3 separate regions of the Homo sapiens genome follow, and regions 1 and 2 are each linked to region 3. The links are contacts of gene promoters, found by promoter capture Hi-C in blood cells and fetal thymus (Javierre and others, 2016). All regions are on one chromosome and are shown on one strand. The core of a region is centred on a gene start or on the middle of the fragment in contact, and the rest is flanking DNA. Distances in the headings are between cores, read along the strand shown. Region 1 overlaps HIBADH (3-hydroxyisobutyrate dehydrogenase). Region 2 overlaps HIBADH (3-hydroxyisobutyrate dehydrogenase). Region 3 holds the start of HOXA11 (homeobox A11).

Region 1 (4,188 bases), core at 138-2,637, 400 kb after region 3:
GAACTATCACTTGTCTATTCAACTTAGTAAAGTAATTGCTTCTTTATTCTCCTTGAAATGTTGTTGTATGCTTTACAAGTACACAATCCCTTCCCTTCAACTCTTATACAATAAGCTCTGAAATGCAAAAGAGTTTTTCTTCACTCATTTGGCAGCAAAACTTTACCTGAACTGATTTAAGGCTATAGTCTTCATTTCTTCTGCTTAGTGTGAATATTCATATATTTCATTGCAGAAATTGTTGGTGTTTTGATTACAGGGGGCTGCCCTGGTCTCTGCTGGGGATGTTACATAGCATATGGTAAATATACATATTACCTTGCTATAATTCTAAAACAAAACTCACATGACTCCAAGAGTTTCAAGTAAGGGATTGTGGGACTATGGGAATTTTTTTCTTTTCCTATTTTATGAACAGGAACCTAATTTCTGGCTTAGTCGTAGAATTATTGTAATAGTTCACTCCCACTTACTAAATAATTATGATATACCAGGCACTGGGTTTTACATATTTACATTATTCTAATTGAATGCTGTGGAATGAATCTTTATGGCCTAGAGATCTAAGTGTATGGGACTTTATCCAGGCTTCTCCCCACCTCAAAATCAATCTGGTTTCCCAGAGTAAGAAGCTGGGCGAGCTGCTCTTTGTGTCCGTATGGTGGTTTTTCATTTCTCTTTGGTTGGAGATTATTATATGGATAAAAAGCACAAACCTTACAGTCAGCCAGGCTCATGTCTGAATTAGCTCTACCTCTACAAATGAGTAGGACAAATTCTTTAACCTCTTTATGAGACCATTTCCACATCAGTAAAATGGGGATAACAACAGTACTGACCTCACAGGGCTTTTGTGAGGATTAAATGAGATGATGTCTGTAAAGTACTCAGCAATTTTACAAAATACCTGGCCTAGTACTTAGTGTATAATCATAAGCTACCTTACCTATCTTTACCAATAAGCATCTGCATGATGATAATTTACTTTCTGTATTACAGCTATTATTCCACAAAACTTTTTTTTCACAGAAATAAGATGATATTTACAAGATGTGTTCTTGTTTTCAAAAGACCCTTATTTTGACTTCAAGGGAAGCTTTATTAAGCATTAATTGTCACAGATACACCGCTATTATACAGAATTTTAAAAGCTAAGGAGATGTTAGAGGGAAGTAAAATACATTGAACAGCTTACTCTGTTAACAACCTTGATCTGATTTTTAAAGTAAGGAGAACAAAATTCAGACTTGGCCAATGTTACAAAACTAGTAAAAAGCAAATACCTTCACCAAAAGCCAGAAGGAAACAGTATCTCATGATGCAGTCTAATACTGTTATGACAACTTCAAAAAAACTTTTTCTACCTTCCTTTTCAAGAAAAAGCTACCTAATACCTAGGTATTATAGAATACAATATTAAGCATATTATATATTAATAACTTTTTGTGACATTAATTCATGTATTGTTTCAAAACCTGCTTTTACTACTAACACAACACTGTAAAATATTTTCATGTCAGATATTTATCTACATCACTGATTCATAATATGTAATTTAATCAATTCTCCCTTATTGGACATTTGGGTTATTTCCAAGGCCTCATCATTTTAAACCAGTGGTTCTTAAACTTTTTGGTCTTAGGATTTCTTTATACTCTTTAAATATTTTTGAGGACACAAAAGCTTTTGTTTATGTGGATTATATCTATTGGTATTTACTGTATTAGAAATCAAAACAAATTTTAAAAACATTTCTCAATTGACTTAAAAACATCAATCATAAACCTAATACATATTAACATATTTTGGGAAAAATAACAAGCAACAAAATTTAGTGAGAAGAGTAGCACTGCTTGACAATTTTTCAAATCTCTTTAGTTCTGGCTTAATAGAAGACAGCTGGATTTTCATAGTAGATTAAATGCAGAAGCAGATATATGTTGTTTTGGTTGAAATTAAGAAAAGCTGACCTCATATAGATAATGCAGTTTAAAAAAGTAAGAGAGAATTTTAATAACTTTTTCAGATAATTGTGGATATCCTTCTTTTATATTAAACCCAAACCTGACAAATGGTGGTTTCTTAAAGGCTTGTTGCAATGTGGAAAGAACTTTTTATACTATGTTACATTAAAATCTATCCCTCTATTTTGTACTTTGCATCTTTTATCTAGGCATAATTTGGTAACATCATACAACGGTCAATTGGAAAATACTCGTTCAGTTAGTTATGCAGATATTCTAAATTCCCAGTATACAGTAACAGAAACTCACATTCTTTAACTGCACCAACAATCTTTTCACAAAAGTCTTTAAGGATTAGAAAGTTGTTAAGTTCATATGGTCAGATACAAGTTTTCCAAAATTCTAATTTTTACTTGAAAGATCCAGTTTTATCATTGGTTACAAATACCCTCAGTTGCTTTCCTTGAAGTAAGACTCACTTTTTTCTTTCTATAAGATGTCTTGTTATTCTTTGAAATAAAAATGGTGTTCCACAAAAATGCAGATAGTATAGCTGGCAACTCAAACAATCACCTAAATACTTCTCAAGACAACCCCAATACCAACTGTAGCAGGATCGTTTGGGGCATATTTTCCATTACATCAAATAAAATATACAAAAGACATGTACTCAACATTAAGATTTAATAAAATTAATAATTTTTAATGCTTCATCAAGGAACATTAAGTGGAATGCTTTATGTGTAGCTGTTAAGAATACGATACCACTGTCTTGACTCTTGCTAAGGGCAGCAGTTTTACTCACCATTCCTTTTGCACCATGAGTATTATTACTCTATTATTAGAAAAATAATTTTCACTTTATGGCCTCCTAGGGATCCATGGAGGGTACACTGAGAACCAATGTTCTTAACAATGCTAAAAGTACATTCTTATAGTTAAATCTTTACACATATTCTTACTCTGGGGGGATAAATTCTTAAAGTGGAATTACTTGGTAAATTATATATATTTGTAAAAATATACATACATAAATTACTAGGTAAATTTATAGACCTATAAATATAGAGCTTTTATACATACATACAGGTGTGCATGTTTTTTATATATGTATATATGTGTGTATATATGCACACACATATGTATGTATAAAAGTACGTGTGTATATTTGCATGTGCACACACGTGTGCATATATACACACGTGTGTATGTATGTGTATGTATATGCACACACGTGTGTGTATGTATAAAAGTTTTTGATGCATACTACCAAACTGTTCTCTGAGTTGGTTCAAATAACTTACATCACCAAAGCAGTCTATGAGGCTACACATCTTCCCTATCTATGCTAGGACTAGACTTTTGTATCTTTGCCAATCTGAGGGTTAAACATAATAACTTTTCAGAACCATCCTGACTGCCACAAAGACTGGGTGGCCCCAGATTAGCCAGGAGACACTACATATATTTGCCTTCATTGTGGCTCACATTTCATCTCATCAAAATGAAGATATTATTTACCCTGTCTAATTCACTGGGATGATATGAGAAATAATTAGGAAAAGAATGAAAAAGTAAAAAGCATTTGTAAGACGATTCAAAGAGAAACAGATCAAATGTCAATGACACACACTCAAAGGAAGTGTATAAATTGGTTTCACCAGATTTTGGTTGTCCTAAAAGTGAGTGAGTTTGGGGCTTGTAACATTTAAGTTTTCTGTTTACTGAAAAATGAATCTAGAGTTTTCCTGCCCTTAAAAATGGTTGTATTTTCTAGGTACATGATTTTTTTTTAAATTTTTTTGGAGAAAATGTTATAAGATGGCAAAATTCTCAATTTAAGAACACAGATGTAAACTTTATTAACAGCAGGCAGAAAGCTGGCCTTCTTCCATGCTATTCTATTCTAATCTAAGAAGATAGGTGGTTATGTAATTCCTCCACATAAATTCAGTCCACCTGGACGTGAAGGGGGAGGTGACTTAACAAACTGACTTCACATCAGTTCACGCATTTTCTCTGCAATTTATTCTTTAAAAATGTTTTTTCCCTATGAACAATACATTCAATATAAATTATTAGATTATCACCAATTTCTACAAAAGCAAATATGCCCTTGTTGCAAATATGCAAAAACAGAAGGAAAACACAAAAAGGAACATTCTTTCCATTCCAACTGATAGTCTACATGAGCTCTCAGGAAGTTTGGCAACTGGGTTTCAAG
Region 2 (4,340 bases), core at 1,701-4,200, 460 kb after region 3:
TATTGATTCAAAATTTCTAAAATATTAAGATCTGATCATTATTATCAGTTACGTTTTTTAAAAAGATGCTAAAAGTTGAAATGATGCATCTGTTTCCAACAGAAACACGAATATAATAAAGGGATAAGCTATAACAAACCCACAGCCAACATCATACTGAATGGGCAAAAGGTAGAAGCACTCTTCTTGAAAACCGGAACCAGGCAAGGATGCCCTATCTCATCACTCCTATTCAACATAGTACTTAAGTCCTGGCCAGAGCAATCAGGCAAGAAATAAAAGGCATTCAAATATGAAGAGAGGAAGTCAACCTATCCCTGTGTGCAGACATGACGCTGTATCTAGAAAACCCCATAGTCTCAGCCCAAATCTCCTTAAGCTGATAAACAACTTCAGCCAAGTCCCAAGACACAAAATCAATGCGCAAAAATAACTAACATTCCTATATACCAACAACAATCAAGCCAAGAGCCCAATCAAGAACACAATCCCATTCACAATAGCCACAAAAAGAATAAAATACAGGAATACAGCTAACCAGAGAGGTGAAAGATCTCTATAACAAGAATTACAAAATACTACTCAAAGAAATCAGAGATGACACAAACATTCCATGCTCATGGATAGGAATAATCAATTTTGTTAAAATGGCCATATTGCCCAAAGCAATTTATAGATTCAGGGCTATTCCTATCAAACTACCAATGACATTCTTCACAGAATTAGAAAAAAACTATTTTAAAATTTATATGGAACCAAAAAAGGAGCTCAAATAGTCAAGGCACTCCTAAGCAAAAAGAACAAAGCTGGAGGCATCATGTTACCCAACTTCAAACTCAAACTTTTCTATAGGGCTACAGTAACCAAAATAGCATGGTACTGGAACAAAACAGGCACACAGACCAATGGGACAGAATAAAGTACAGAAACAATGCTGCACACCTATACCCATCTGATCTTTGGCAAAGTCAAAAAAAAAAAAAAAAAAAAAACAAGCAATAAGGAAAGGACTCCCTATTCAATAAATGGTGCTGGAATAACTGGCTAGCCATATGCAAAAAACTGAAACTGGAACCCTCCTTATACCATACTCAAAATTCAACTCAAGGTGGATTAAAGACTTAAATGTAAAACCTAAAGCTATAAAAACCTGGAAGATAACCTAGGAAATACTGTTTCTAGACATAGGACCTGGAAAAGATTTCAAGACAAAGATATCAAAAGCAACTGCAACAAAAACAAAAATTGACAAATGAGACCTAATTAAACTAAACAGCTTCTGCACAGCAAAAGAAACTATCAACAAAAAATAAACAGACAACCTACCTAATGGGAGAAAATGTTTGCAAACTATGCATCCCACAAAGGTCTACTACTCAGAATCTATAGGGAACTTAAATCAACAAGCAAAAACCAAACAACTGCATTAAAGAGTAGGCAAAGGACATGAACAGACACTTTTCAAAAAAAGACATACACACAGTCAACAAACATGAAAAAATGCTGAACATCACTAATCATTAGTGAAATGCAAATCAAAACCACAATGAGATACAATATCACACCACTCAGAATGGCTGTTATTAAAAAGTCAAAAAATAAGAGATGCTGGCAAGGTTGCAGAGAAAAAGGAACATTTATACACCGCTGGTGGGAATGCAAATTAGATGAGTTACTGTGGAAGCAGTGTGGTGATTCCTCAAAGAACTCAAAGCAGAATTACCATTCAACCCAGCAATCCCATTATTGGGTACATACCCAAAGGAATATAAACAGTTCACCATAAAGACACATGCACCCGTATGTTCATCATAGCACTATTCACAATAGCAAAGACATGGAACCAACCTAAATGCCCATCAATGGTAGACTGAATAAAGAAAATGTGGTACATATACACCATGAAATACTATGCAGCCATAAAAAAGAATGAGATCATGGCCTTTACAGCAACATGGATAGAGCTGGAGGCCATTATCCTAAGCAAACTAATCCAGGGAAAGAAACCAAATACCACACATTCTCACTTATAAGTGGGAGCAAAACACTGAGTACACACAGACACAAAGAAAGGAACAACAGACACTTGAGACTACCTGAGGGGGGAGGGAGGGACAGAGGGTGAGGATCAAAAAACTACCTGCCAGGTACCGTGCTTATTACCTGGGTGGCAAAATAATCTGTACACCAAACTCCTGTGACATGCAATTTACCTATATAACAAACCTGCACAATTACCTCCGAACCTAAAAGTTAAAAAACATCAACTGCAAGCTTCCTGTGGGCCTTGGAGGCTGCCCTACAAACACACTCATTTTCTGAGTCCATCATTCTGCCCAACTTATTTTAATAAATGCTTATATAATAAAAACTTCCCTCTGATTTTGTTTTTAAATTAAAAAAAATAAAGGGATACGGAAACGTCCACATATTTTATGAAAATGACCACAAATAACAAGTTCAACCAATTATAAATGCCTTATCAGAATAGGTTAACACTTAAAGGCATAAACAAGCTATTAAGTAGTCCTGTAAAACATATTAAACTTATCAAAGTTTTTATTTCCCTAATAATCCACGTACAGTCAAGCAAAAGAGATACGTTCTGAGAAATGCGTTGTGAGAAAAGAAAAATAACTTGAAGTAGTCTGAACTATGTGAGGTTTGCAAAATTTATCAGGCCCAGAGAGACGTAAGCATAGGACTTTGGTCACCGCCACCCTCCGTGCCCAGTGGCAATTGCTTAAAGGCATTTTTGTTCCTGACTAGCTGCCTCCCTTATTATTGTCATATTCCTGGAATTTGGAATACAAAGAACAATGTACAGTCAATTAATAATTTATGTTAATGTAAACTCTTGTTAAACAACTTAGGAACTGCCTCTTCTTTTTTCCTTAAAAACCCACCTGGGGCCAGGTGCAATGGCTCACACCTGTAATCCCAACACTTTGGGAGGCCAAGGTGGGCTGATCACTTGAGCCCAGGAGTTCAAGCCCAGCCTGGGCAACAAAGCAAAACCCTGTCTCTACAAAAATACAAAAATTGGCTGGGCATGGTGGTGCACACCTGTGGTCCCAACTACTTGGGAGGCAGGGGCGGGAGGATCACTTGAGTCTGGGAGGTTGAGGCTGCAGTGAGCCATGATCCCGCCACTGCATTCCAGCCTGGGTGACAGAGAGAGACCCTGTCTCAAAAGAAATGAACAAACAAAATCACTTGTAACATCTGCTAATCGTATATATTCAAGGCAACTTGAATTTATGCTTCCAGGTGGCCATTTTCCACCTTTTGGGCCTGAATAAACTCTATACCTAATCACAGTTTCTGAATCATTATTTTAATAAGGTTGACAGTTGTTAGGCTATTTCATGTTGCACGAACATCAGAGAGAGCACTTACAGACCTTCATGGTGTAGTGTATTTCTTCTAGGCTACAAACCTGTACAGCAACGTTAATGTACTGAATACTGTAGGCAACTGTAACATAATGTAAGAATTTGTACATTTAATGATCTATACATACAAAAGGTACAGTAAAAATACTCTATTATAATCCTATGGGACCACCTTTATGTATGCAGTCCATGACCAAAACATCCTTATGAGGTGCATGACTACGGTTTTACTAAAGCTTGAAGAAAAGCCTCCAGGGTCATAATATTCTAAAATACTTCTTCACCTGGAACGGCAGGTGGCCATCTTGCACCTTGAAGGGAGAGAGGAGCCTGATGGAGAAAAGCAGACTCCAGAAGCAAAGAGAAAAGAAAAGAATCTGGCTGTATCTATGTCACTAAATTCAGCTCTGCCAGAGGTCAGGCCACTCCCCAACTCTTCCAATACATGAAACAATAAATTCTCAGTTTTTGCTTTCAAAAAAAACAAAAGCACTTCTTCAAAACAACATCTGATTTTCTTCCCTGCAAATCTCTCACTGAAAGAACAGCTGACATTAGAAATCAACTAACCAGCATTTCTGCAATCTTGGTGGGGTGTTGGGGGATGGGCTTGTTTTCTTTGGCTCTCACTTCATCAGCTTGACTTGATATAGTAACACAGAGGGAGGAAATGGACACCCGTCCTTAAAAATGTATGAGTCAACTCAAATATACGCTGAATTTTTTAACCTTTAAACCCACCCTTCAGGGCACTATTGTGGCAAAAAGTTTCAGAGTTTCACACATACTTTTCCATCTCATCCCAAGTCGTGTCTTGGCCTTATGGTAATAGAATGAAATTCATTTTTTCTTTTATCCAACATTTTAAAAAACTAAACATAGCTATGAAATAAGAATGTTGACATTTTAATATATCAGAACGTATTCATCCAAATTAATATTACC
Region 3 (4,749 bases), core at 949-3,448:
GAGGGAGAAAAGGCATGGGGTGAGCCAGGTGTGGGGGCTGCAATCCACCCCAGAGCCCATAGCTGAGGAGAAGGGCTGCCATGGGGACTGGTGGTCCAGCCCAAGCCCCGTCAAAGTCTGCCCAGGCCCCTGCCTTTAACGCTCCGACTGCATGCTTGGAACGGCCGCAGTTGGAGGCTCAGCCACAGATAAAAGCCAGCTCCCTAAATAGGCCCCCGGGGAAGCTGCTCCCGCTGCCCCCAGAACAGAAAGGAGAGCTTCGCACAGCAACAGGCGAGTTTGCGCTGCCTAAGCCTCTTTGAAAGCAGCCAAGTGGGGGTTGCCGGCTGCCTCTCGCAGGCCAGACTAAACAAACAGCCGCCTGCGGACATTTCACCTTCCAGCACCTGGGCTGCCCCTTCCCAAGGCAGTAAAGGCGGCTCCAGTCCCAGTCTTTCCCGGCTGCGGCCAAGACTGGGCAGTCCTTAACATCTGGGGCGGCTGCCGGGTCTTTGTCAGCCTGAGTCCTGGCCACCAGCTTCTGCCTCCCCGGCCAGCCTTCCGGCTCCGCCGAGGTGGGGAGGTGGCGGCGGAAGCCCCCTACCCTAGGCCTTCGCTGAGCACCACGGCCACACGGCCATCCTGCACACGGCAGAGCAGCGGCTCTATCTTAGGTAGGGTGAAGGGAAAGGGGGCTTCCCGAAGCTGCGGGCAGGCTCTACTTGCTCCCCCTTTAAAAAAAAAAAAAAAAAAAAAAAAAAGACCCACAAGACAAAAAAAAAATCGCTTTTGACAGATTGAATAACAATTGTGAATAACATGCAGTTGGGCAGAAGGAGGCACGTAATTGCCACCACGCCAGAGGAAAATGGCTTCCTTTGGACAAAAAGGCCAACTTTGGGTTAATTTGTTCTTTTAATATATTGCTAGAGCTAAGCGGGCTACTTTATCTGTTAAACGCGCTCCTAGCGCCGTCGTTAAACAGCGACGCCTTTGAATCCCGGCCGGGACTGGAGTCCCGGCGCAACACATGGCTTTTATAAAAATCTCCGGATTACCTCGCTATCAAAAGCTCCCGAAGCCCTTGCAGGGGGAATTTACAGGCGCCCACCTCCGGCTCCCCAGCCTGGAGCTGGCCCCGAGCGGGGTCGAGCTGCTGGGCTTGGGAGCTGAGAAGGGAAAAAAGGGAAAAGGGGAGTTGTTTTTTTTTGCAGGCATGCCTTGGCCGGTGGGTATTTCACGGCCAATTTCAGCACTCGCCACGTGATCCCGCCTTTTATAACAAAGTTTTGTTGGGGGAAACCTAAAGGCCCTTCATAAACCTTATATGCTTATAAAACAGCATATAAAAATTTAACAGCGGTGCTGCGCTAGATTTCCAACTCCCCTTTCATAAAGCGCAGGGCGCTGCCTTTATACGTACTGGAGCCGCCGGCCTTGTCCTCAGTGTGGCCGGAAGACGACTCGGGGCTGCTGCTGCTCTCGGGGCGCCGCCGCCGCTCTTTCTCCTCTGCTGCCGCCGCCGTCTCCCGGCAGCCGCCGCCGCCGCCGCTGTCCGAACTTGAAGTTGCCGGCGCGCCCGTTGCAGCCGCCGCCGCCGCCGCGGAGGTCGCCGTGGCCGCCGGGGGCCCCTTCTCGGCGCTCTTGTCCCCGGGGTAGTCGGAGGAGGCGAGGTTTTCCGGGGTGCCGTAGGCTGTCTCGAAAAACTGGTCGAAAGCCTGTGGCAGGACGCCGTTCCTGCCCACGGTGCTATAGAAATTGGACGAGACTGCGGGGGTGGGGTGGTGGTAGACGTTGGCCGAGCTCTTGGCCAGCACGTCGCCAGGCACGCCGGCCGCGCTGGGCGCCTGCAGGCAGTCTCTGTGCACGAGCTCCTCCGCGGAGTAGCAGTGGGCCAGATTGCCGCGGGGGTGCCATTTAGTGGCGGGCTCAATGGCGTACTCTCTGAAGGTCACTTCGCGCACGGGTTGGACCTGGGGCAGGTTGGAGGAGTAGGAGTATGTCATTGGGCGCGAAGACGGGGTCTGGGGCAGAAAAGAAGGGAGGCTGGAGAAATCTGGACCCGAGACGTAGTAAGTACAACTTGGCAAATACATGTTAGAGGAGCAGGGACCACGCTCATCAAAATCCATTATTGGGCTACCTTGGGCTCTCCGCAGTAGCCGAGCTTAACATGATTCTCCACTGCAGCTGCCTCTTTGAAGCGGATCCGTGAAGTAGAAATTTGGAGACGTAAGCTGACGTGGAAATCTATCCCCATCCTTAGCAGGGAGGTGCTGGTCATGTGACCCGATGTTGAAATTGACAAGCTGCTAGCTAGTCCGGGCCTTTTCCCCCCCCCTTTCCTTTTTTTTTTTTCCTCCTCTCCCCTCCCTCCCGGCTTCCTTTCTTTGTAGCCACCTCAGGGGAAGCAACAGATCGTCACTCGGTGTTCTCACCGAAAGCACGTAATCGCCGGTGTAACTCATGTTGGCTGGGGGGCCTCCCGGCGCGCGCGGAGAGGCTGGGGTGCGCCCCCATGCAGCATGCTTGTGCTCAATTGCAGGGTCCTCGTTCTCGAGTGTGCAGAGGGCGGTGAGAGCTCAACTCTCGTCCCCACCTCCCACCCGCAGCTCCCCGGGTGGGTGAGGGATGCCCTGGACTGGGGATAGCCAGGTGGGAGTCCGTCGCTGTGTGGCCTGTGGTCTCGGAGTCTGTTCTCCTGGAGTCTCGCATTTGCACCCCCTTCTTCGCAGTCCCCCTCCCATAGACTTGCTCTGGGAAGCGCCTCTGCCTCCGACCCTAGCCGGAACCCCTTCGGGGCCAGAGTTTGAAGCCGTGGATGTGCCTGCCTGGTGGCTTGTCCGATTTGCACGGTGACTTGATTACACTCTCTCATTCATGGTCACTTCCGAAGCGCTTTAGTGCCTTCCGTCCCTAAACCGCCAACAGCCAGAACGGCTTCTCCCCGCGGTTTGTCACTGATCCGCAGGGCCCGGAAGGGCCTTCGTCTTACCCGGGATCCACCTCTCCCCTCATCTTCCCTGCCTACCTCTTCATCCCACCTTCTGTCCTTGGAGAAACTCCCTCCTCCTCGCTGCCTGCCGGGCTTCGGAGTGACTCGGCAGAGACAGAGGCACAGGGGCTGCCCTGCTGCTCACCGGTCCACCCATCTGCCTGGTCTTCTGGAGCTGAGGACTCGGGAAACCATGCAATTGAGGCAAGCCTTGGGCTGCTTTAGAGGCGCTGACATCCGAGGAGACTTCTCCTGGGTATGCTGCATCTTCGTGGGGGGCCCATCAGGCTGCTTACAGAGCTCCAGGGGTGTGGGGAGAATGGAGGTGGAAAGGACGGGCTGAGGGCCAAGGAGAGGTGGCTGAGAAAGGGGTAACCCACCTACTCTCCTACTCTCCTTCCTTGCAATGTGTGAGAGTGAAAGCAAGGGATGTGCAGGGCAAAAACTCAGAGAGCTCTGTGCCTTTCCTACTGCTCATTCCACAGGAGGAATACAATACCAGAGAAAGGAGAGGTGCTTCCCGAACTCCCTGCACCTGGGGAAACAGGGATGTCTTTAAAAAGCTAGGTTTGTGCTAAGGATAGAGAGAGGCCATAGCAATACTCTGAGTCTAGCTTTCTTGAGAAGAGGAAAAAAAATAAATTAAGAAGGCAAAATATGCTCCCCATCCTGCAGGATTGAAGGAGCAATGTTTGGAGGAAGCGAAAGAAAGGAGAGGACACAGAGCACAGAGCAGCCAGGCAGAGCCAGGAGCTGAGAAGGGCCCAGACCTGAGGCCTCCCAACAACTCTCTTCTTGGAAGGATCTGGGATGTTGCTGAAGGAAAATAAAAAAATATGTAAAAAGATAACCTTTTGTTTTTCCCTCTCCAGGAAATAGCCAAAGTTATTTACATATCTTGGGGAGATTTAGAGTATAAACTCTAAGATCTTTGGTATTTAAGTGTCAACATCGATTTATTTATTTATTGCTGAGCTGACTGTAACTGACTCAATAACAAATCTAATCGTGTATTGCACTGGAAAAGAAATATTCTTATTATGTATTTTCTCCAAATAATGGCCTACCATTGCATTTGAATACCTGCTGTAAATATCAATAATATGAAGTAATTACTCTGTAGTCGAGTAAACTAATTTATTAGCATTAATGTTTATGTGGCTCTCCACCTCCCCCCACCACCACCTTTACAAGGATTGCTTATCACAAATCAAGCTACTTGGACACATTGGTTTAATGAACTCTTTATTCAAGATTTGCTACAAGAATTTTCATGTCCTTTGAATCCCTGAGAACTGAACTTGAAATTATTTGTGCATCTTCAGCTTGACATATTTGTCCACTGTGGCTTGTCCAGAGGGCAGCAGTGCTGTGAGTGAGAAGGTCCAGTGGGAAGGAAGGTTATTGGAGAAGAGTAGCCTCAGACCTCCTAAAGCTGGGAAGCACATTTACAGAATTGCCCTGCAGCGAAAAAACTTCTATTTCCAGCAGTGACCAACAAGGCAAAATGTTTGTTTCTCCACAGCATCTCTTTTTTAGAGACAGAATATAAAAGACAGAAGGAGAGGTTTCAAACAGCGGTATTCGAGCTGTTCCCTGGCTTGATTTTGGCTATCCCAAGCTCTCTCTCTGCAGCCCACCCAGTCCACGCCACCCCTACCTTCGAACAAAAGGAATGCATGAAGGGTTTCAGTGACTTTGCCATAACAAAGGCGCCACCATTGCGGGGCTCGCCCCGCCCCTGGGTGAAGGCAAACAAATTCTTGCACTTGTAT

What was found. Contacts are between HindIII fragments. The CHiCAGO score rates a contact against its expected background, and 5 or more counts as called.
Region 1: a fragment that was not itself captured here is called in contact with the fragment with the promoter of HOXA11 in region 3 in 1 of 17 cell types (M0 macrophages); the score reaches 5.2 in M0 macrophages.
Region 2: a contact is called between a fragment that was not itself captured here and the fragment with the promoter of HOXA11 in region 3, in 1 of 17 cell types (endothelial precursors). The highest score is 5.0, in endothelial precursors.

The regions. Positions count from the first base shown.
Region 1 is chr7:27,582,093-27,586,280 of GRCh38, forward strand. All of the region lies in intron 4 of HIBADH (3-hydroxyisobutyrate dehydrogenase), which reads right to left. Among named protein-coding and RNA genes, the nearest start is that of TSL, 32 kb to the right of the region's middle. The HindIII fragment of the contact is 587 bases long and covers 1,095-1,681 here.
Region 2 is chr7:27,637,339-27,641,678 of GRCh38, forward strand. All of the region lies in intron 2 of HIBADH (3-hydroxyisobutyrate dehydrogenase), which reads right to left. Among named protein-coding and RNA genes, the nearest start is that of HIBADH, 23 kb to the right of the region's middle. The HindIII fragment of the contact is 1,357 bases long and covers 2,273-3,629 here.
Region 3 is chr7:27,183,034-27,187,782 of GRCh38, forward strand. HOXA11 (homeobox A11) reads right to left here and starts at 2,199. Exons shown (of 2, transcript NM_005523.6): 1 at 1,403-2,199. The coding sequence starts at 2,111. HOXA11-AS (HOXA11 antisense RNA) reads left to right here and starts at 2,375. Exons shown (of 2, transcript NR_002795.2): 1 at 2,375-3,230. RefSeq lists enhancers at 1-680, 681-1,562, 2,445-3,326. The HindIII fragment of the contact is 8,872 bases long and covers 1-4,749 here.